Regions from separate parts of the Homo sapiens genome. Here region 1 is linked to region 2. The links are contacts of gene promoters, found by promoter capture Hi-C in human tissues and cell types (Jung and others, 2019). All regions are on one chromosome and are shown on one strand. Each heading gives the region's core, a stretch centred on a gene start or on the middle of the fragment in contact. The rest is flanking DNA. Distances are from core to core; before and after follow the strand shown.

The links. The method cuts DNA at HindIII sites, captures the fragments that hold promoters and counts their contacts. A contact is called where the count stands out against the background at its distance.
Region 1: a fragment that was not itself captured here is called in contact with the fragment with the promoter of FAR2 in region 2 in 1 of the 25 tissues and cell types used here (dorsolateral prefrontal cortex).

The regions. Positions count from the first base shown.
Region 1 is chr12:28,126,382-28,130,012 of GRCh38, reverse strand. LOC105369710 (a long non-coding RNA gene) reads left to right here and starts at 439. Exons shown (of 3, transcript XR_931461.3): 1 at 439-540. All of the region lies in intron 1 of LOC107984462 (a long non-coding RNA gene), which reads right to left. The HindIII fragment of the contact is 4,493 bases long and covers 1-3,631 here.
Region 2 is chr12:29,147,075-29,150,921 of GRCh38, reverse strand. It overlaps FAR2 (fatty acyl-CoA reductase 2), which reads right to left and starts at 1,644. Exons shown (of 12, transcript NM_001271783.2): 1 at 1,515-1,644. RefSeq lists silencers at 1,277-1,426, 1,737-1,796. The HindIII fragment of the contact is 14,796 bases long and covers 1-3,847 here.

The DNA of each region.
Region 1 (3,631 bases), core at 864-3,363, 1.0 Mb after region 2:
GTTAAAATTGAGACAACTTGGTGATTTTTTTGATAAATAACTTCTATCTTTTGGAACAAAACATAATAGCAAGAAATAAAGCCTCTCTAATGGAGATTATATGTGAAAATATTATATATTGTAAGATTTAACAGGTCACCTGCAATTTAGTACATTTCTAAATGAAGTCTGAAAGAATCAAGTATTTCTTCCTCCAGATTATACCATAAACTGTATTTCATCAGTTCTAAGCACATTTTTTCATATTTTAAATTTTTCTAAATTAAGATACTCTTTAAAATTTTAACTGGAAAACTTTTCTCTTTAGTGATAAATAAGATAGCAAGCTTTTTATAGTCGATGACTTCTTCTTCTTCTTTCTTCTTCTTCTTCCTCTTTTTTAGATGGAGACAATCTTGATTATAGCTCACTGCATTCTTGAACTCCTGGCCTCAGGCAATGCTCCTGCTCCTGCCTCAACTTTCCAAAGTGCTGGGATTATAAGTGCACGCCATCATGCCCGACCTGACTTGATGACTTCTTAAGATTCAGTGAAGCCTGGTATTTTATATATTTATTTTCTATTATGTGATCTCATTATTAGGGCCTTCAAGTTTGTTTTTTATTTTAAAAAAAGCAAGCTCCTTGCTGGGGCCCATTAAGAAATGAGAACTCTCGCAAAAAATGCTTTTTTATTCATTCACAATGCTGCATATTTCACTGGTAGTTACAATAAATCACAAGCTGATAATTAATGGAGGGAAATATGTAAAGGGCTTTCCCTGGGCAGATTTAGGTGATTCTGTACAACAAAAATGTTAATCAAATGAGAAAGTCAGTATGCTGGTTGAACATTTCTTTTCTCAAAGATTCCTTTTGACTTCATGGAATTACAGTTCAAACATTTGCAAGCTCTTGTTTTTGAAAGATACTAATTACTGTCAAAATTCCCCTCCTCTAGTGTTCATTTAAAATTTCTTTTTCTCTGACCCAGTCTTTCAAATTTCCACCCCCAGTTTGACCTCAGGCTTTCATCCACCACTTGCAGACAAGAGTTTTATGGGCTTTTCCTGTCTTATTTGCTGGAAATAATTTTTGCTCCCCAGAAGAATATTCTTTCATCATAAATTTCTATCTGTTTGTTGTTTCTTTTCTGGATAATTAGGATAATAAGCATTTTTATTCTAGTCTTTTCATGGCTGAGACACCTATAACAAAAGACAGATTAACAAGAAAAAAGCATACATATTTATTTAAGTTTTACATAAAAGAGACTTCAGAAATGAAGACCCAAAAGAACAGGCAAATGTGCATTTTTATGCTTAGGTTTGAGACAAGGTGGATGGTTGTGGAAAAGTATGATTGGACAAAGGAGGTATGCTCTAATGGTAATAAACTGGGGGGAACTTAGCAAGGTCTGTTTGTTCATATTTTTCTCTGCATCCCTGGGTCATCAGAGATAAGGATGTTCTTTTCTTCTGGTATTAGAGAGAGCACCCTTCGCCTGAAGGTCTTATGACCTGCTTCAGGGTAGAAGGTAGAAGAGCGGGAGAAAGTCAGAGAGTGACTTTCCTAGATTTTCTGACCTGCTTCCGGCGGGAGAGATGAGGGGAGGGTAAAAGTGACCTTCCTGCTTCTGCTGTTTTCTCAAATGCCAACATGCTGTATTTTGGGGTTGCCCGTCCTAAACACCATCAATTGTAACAAATGTACCACACTAATACAAGATGATAGGGGAAACTGTGTTTGGGGAGTAGTGGGGGTGGAGGGTGTGTGTACAAGAACTTTTTGTACTTCCTGATGGATTTTTCTGTAAACCTAAAGCTACTCTTTGAAAAGTCTATTGGCTGAGTATGGTGGCTCACACCTGTAATTCCAGCACTTTGTGAGGCTGAGGCAGGAGGATCGATTGAGCCCAAGAGTTTGAGATAAGCCAATGCAATACAGTGTGACCTGTCTCTACAAACAGTTTAAAAATAAGCAAGGGTGTGCAGGTACACACCTGGAGTCCCAGTGGCAATCACACCATTGCATTCCAACCTGAGCAACAGAGTGAGACCCTGTCTCAATAATAAAAATAATAATAATAATGAAGTTTATTAATTCAAAAATACCTATTTTCCCAAATTGAAAATATAATATGGCCCATAGCTTTGTGACTTTTCAATTCAATCATCTTAGTTACCTTCCAGGAGCAAGCTTAGACCCAGTCATCCTAGAAGGGCACATTTTTTGTTGTTTAGGAAATTACCACAAAGGACTGAAAGAAGGAAACAATGCAGGTGATTCAATGTACAGCGTGCTCCCTTTCCTCACTGACTCAGTACCATTAGTGCTTATGTAGCACTTCATGTGCTTAGATTGCTTTATAATAGCTTAATAGCTGAGACTCGCAATACTTCTGTGAGGTAGGTGGTCAGCAAATACCTTGGTTAGAAGTTTCATTTGAACAACCTGATGCCCAGAATTGTTAATGGCATACCCAAGGTAGCAGTGAGTCAGAGAGTGAGGAGGGACGTAGACATGGGTGTATCCCCTTCTGAATGCCTTTTCTGTCTCATTGGCTTTTACCAGATCAGCTTGCTGGCAAACGGGTGTGTAACTATTAAAGTTCTGTTTTTAGGGGGTAGCTAATTAAGAAGATAAGGATGGTTGACTGACTCAACCATCCTTACCTTCTTAGGTTTCAGGGGGTTTTATGCACATGGCAGGTCTTTGAACCTCCATGTCTTTTGTTAGCACACGTTGCACTTGCCAATCACCTCAGCCAAATACTAGTAGAGAGAAGGTAAGCAGTAATCTCCATGGAAACAGTTTTTCTATAGACGAAAAACAAAATGGACATTGATGGAAAAACTCTTTCATACTTCCTTAAAAATGAAGGTGCTACTGTTATTGTTCTTACTGTCAAAGCAAGAATAGGCGGGGTCCATTCCAACTGTTATTCTCAATAATTCGTGTTTCTTTGGTACAAAGAGTACTGTAAAATGCAGTTGGTGGGGATATGCTGGAGTTCTTTTTCATAACCATAGAATTTTAATTCTGGATGTGTGTGCATTTTAGAGTCTAGAATTCTAGAGTCCTTTAGAATGAAGACTGTTATATTTTAAAAAGATAATTTTGTTATTCTACATTTGAAACCACTTGCTCATTTCTGAAAAAAATCAGATATTAAGGGGAAAAAGGTATAGATATGTAATTTTGCCTTTATTACATCTGGAGGGTACTTTTTAAATTTTTTTCCAGAGCTATTAAAGTGGAGGAAAATAAAAGATATTGGTCCTTAGATCATTGATATAAATCAGATAATCATCCTATCTGCATAATGGTCTCTTAGGAGGAATAGAGAATATGTATATTAGCATAAATAAATGAAACACCAAATGTGAAAGAATTAATTAGCAAACAAACACTGAAGTTGGAGAAAAATCTGTGTTGAAGGCTGACAAAGTACTCAGGGTTGAAATAAGGTCAGACAGAGGCAGACCTATTCAATACAATGTTTTCTGTTTTTTGTTTGTTTGTTTGTTTGTTTCTGGGAAGCAAACAGGAAAGTTTGCATGAAATCATTTTACATGAAATGATACTGGGTTTACATTTTTTCAAAGAACAGTTACTTATGGAGCACCCACTATATACAAGGTTGTGTGTC
Region 2 (3,847 bases), core at 395-2,894:
TTACTTTAATTTCTCTAATAGCTGTATGATTTACCAACTCATGGTGATTTACATCTCTTTTATAGATAATTATAGCCCAATGTTAGAAATAGGAGTAAGTGAGGAATTTGTTAATACAGCAGGGGCAGAAGCAGCCCTCAGAATTAGGAAAAGAGTACTGTAAAGACGTGGATCCTGAGAAATACTACCGATGAAATATTGACACACGCGTCGGCCTGGTAAAAACCTCATGCCCATCTCCTAGAAGTCTCACACACAAATATCCCTTCTGCGGAAATGCCTGCTCTTGCAGTTTAGGTGGCTGCCTTAAGTTTTTATTTAGTCCCTTGCCCCCCTTTCTAAATTTTGGACTAACTACACCTGTCAGTCAAATCTCCAGCTCTTATAAATGGGAATATACAGAGATGGGTAATTGAAACCACGGGGTAATTCTCAAATTTCCATTTGCCCAGTGTCAAATTTCTCTCAACCTAGCAAACAGAAAAGCACGATCTACCTGAATTCCCTGGTCACTTTTCTGACCCTACTCTGTCCTTGCTCATCACATAATGGGGGCACTTTACGTGATTCAACGAGTGGCCAAACTCTTGCAGATCCAGCGATAACCTTGGTTGCTCACACCACATAACTCAACCGTGGAAGAAATGGTGCCACCGCTGGCAGGTGAGACGCCTTCCTCTGGTTTGTAGGATACGATTGGGCATGAATTGTTTTAATAGACTGAGACTGCCCCGCGGGTAATTCTACTTGCTAGGAGTGTTGAGCAGCCTTCCTGCAAGCCATCTACTCCAGTTGGGAGTCTGCTGGCACCTGCTCCCCTGCACACCCCCAGGATGCCCAGGCCGCAGGAAGATGTCTAAAACTTCCTACAGGGGCAAAGCCCGCCCTGGCCTCACCAGTCGCCCCAGCGCGCGTCAGCCACGACCCCGGCGAGGCCCAGGTGGGAGGGTAGGGACGTGCGCAGCCTGGGGTGGGGCTGGGGGCTGGCGAGGACCTGCTCCGGGGACCAGGACTGGGCGCCCTGGCGGTCCCAGGCACCGGGAGGGGACCTAGGACCGCTGCCGTTTCACACGTGGCCCCGGCATTTTCGCGCTCTCTCCAGGAATAGCCCCAAGGGCCCAGGAGGCCTGGGTGGGACTCGGCCCCGCGCCTCTCTTCCCGGGTCCCCAGTCCCCAAGGCGCGGCCCCCCACATTAACCTTGCTGGGTCCTTCCCGGCTTTCTGCCCTTTGCAACCCCCGCGCGCCCCACCTTGGCGGGCTCCGCCGACGCCAACCGCGCGTAAACGGCCGGTGACGATTGGGGTGCAGCCGGGGGCAGCTTCAGGGGGCAGAGCCTCCGCAAATGCTTCTCTCCTCCCACCCGGCCTCACACCCACCCTCCTCGAGGTCCCGCCGGGAACCGCCCCGCCCTGCGAACCCAGCCGAGCCCTCCCTCCTGGGCCACCCCCAGTCCGGTCTCTGCTTTTGGAGCGCGTGGGCTCTGCGAGCGCCAGGGCTGGGGACCCTGGAATACCTGTTCCTCCAGCACGAGGATGGGGTCCAACTAGTGGTCCTCTAAATCCTGCTCCTTCCCCGAGGCTACGGGAAGCGCTCCAGCCACAAGGAAACGGCTCCAGTCTTTCGGCTCCCAAACGTGACACTCTATATATCCGGCTCGGAGACTGGGTGTGGGGCGGGAGGAAACCACCCTCCCTCCGACCTTCCCCGGCTCCGCCGCTGCCTCGGCACTGGGCGCGAAACCGGCGGCAGCCTCAGCCCGGGGCGGGAGGAGGGTGAGGGGCCAGCGAAGGCCCTACAGGTCGCGGGGGCGACAGCATCGTGGGCAGGGCGGCCGCGCGCGCAGGCCCGCCCCGCGCTTCCATTCGTTCAGCACCAGCGGATCCACTGGCTATGACTCCCGCATTTGTGTGGTTTGGGGGAGGGGAGTTGGTTTTGGTTTCGGTGGGTTTGGTTTGTTTGTTTGTTTGGGGCTTTTGTTTTGTTTTGTTTTGGGTTTTGGGGTTGGTTTTTTTCTCCATTTTTTAATCAGTGGGCGAGGGGACAAGGAAGCTAGAAAGGCGCCCCTCTCTGGTGTGGGAAAGGAGAACTCCCACACCGTGAAAGGTGGCGGGGTAGGGGGGTGGAGGGAGAGACCGAGACAGGAGAGAGATTCAAAGGTTCTAGTCTGAACTGAACGCTTGGGGGACATACCTTTCCCCACCCACCCTAGCAGAAAAGGCAGCCAAAAATCCCAGTTTACTCAGCTTGACTACACTGCACATCCCGTGGGAGGGATGCTCTTGTATCTGCTAAAGACATTGCGGAGGCGCCCTGCAGTGACCCACGAACGCAGTGGCTTTTTAAAACCCAAGGGCGTGAGGGTGGAGGGTGATGCGAGGACTTCAGGTGAGGCTTCCTCACACTCGGGGTTTGAAGGGCAGAAATCCGGCTCTGCCTGCCTATGGTGGGGTGGGGGTGGGTAGGAGACTAGAAAGGATCAGAGATGGGGGCCGCAGAAACAGCAGTGAGCCAGCTGTGCTCAGCAGCACTTCTCCGGACTTAAAAGAAAAAAAGATGTTTCATTTCTTAGCCTGGTAGCTTTTTTGGGATTTGGTCATTGTTAAATTTTAAACGGAAAAACAAGCTGCCAGGGAAGCCTTGTAGAGGGATGGACAGGCACGTGAGTGGAGCCCTTGGCCTCAACCAGGAAGTGCTGAAAAACGGCCAACGCCCATCCTAATTCCCTGGACAATGTAGGAGGTAAATTTCCAAATAAATATGGTGTGTTAAGAAAAATAGAAAAGAAATATTGTCCTATAAGCTGTTCTGATTCTCCTCATTATAACAATCCACATGCAATTAAAGAAATAAAATTTGACTTTTGAAAGTTAGAATTAAGGAGTGATTTCATGAAATTAAAATAATAACACCCATCTTGAATTCTCTACTACTGGGCTCTTTAATGAAATGTGTTAAGCTAAGTGTAGCCTAAAGGCACTGACTAATTTCCTCTGGTGACCGCCTGAATGCAAGAGACAGAAAAAAAGTTACAACCAAATTTATAGTATTTTTCGTTACCCCTCCCCTCCTCAAGAATAAATTTGAATGTATCTTCAAAATGTGTGTGACAGCACTTCAAATGATAATGTCAAATGCTGGTGAAAACGTATAGAAATCACTTAACAGATAGCAGATGGAAGGTAAATTGTAATCACGCTTTTGTTGGAAAGCAATTTAGCAACACATTCCCAAGGTGTTCAGTAACGAAATTTTTTCTTGTTCTGGACCTAGATTCCCATGTCTTACAATGTATTCAAAGGAGATAATCCATAAAAGAGAAATGCCGCATGTACATAGTTGCATATTTATTACCGAGTTGTTTATAAAGTAGGAAATTAAAAGCATACTTTCAGTGGGATGTTCATAGATAAAATACAACATTAATTATAGATTACAAAACCACAATTTGATTATCACCATTTAAAACGCTATTCATATATGTAGAATGTATTAGTTTGCTAAGGCTGTCATAAGGATGCACATAAACTGGGTGGATTAAACTATAGAAATGTATTATTTCATAATTCTGGAGGCTAGAAGACCAAGATCAAGATGTCTGCAGGGTTGGTTCCTTATGAGGGCTTTGAGAGAGAATTTTCCATGATGCTTACCTACTTCCAGTGGTTTCTTGTTGGCTTGTAGACACATGACCCCTGTCTCCTATAATCTTCATATGGCATTCTCCCTATGTTCATGTCTGTGTCAAAATTTATCCTTTATAAAGATACCAGTCATATATGATTTAGAGCTCACCTTAATGGCCTCATTTTAACTTTACTAATTAAATTTGCAACAACCCTATTTCCC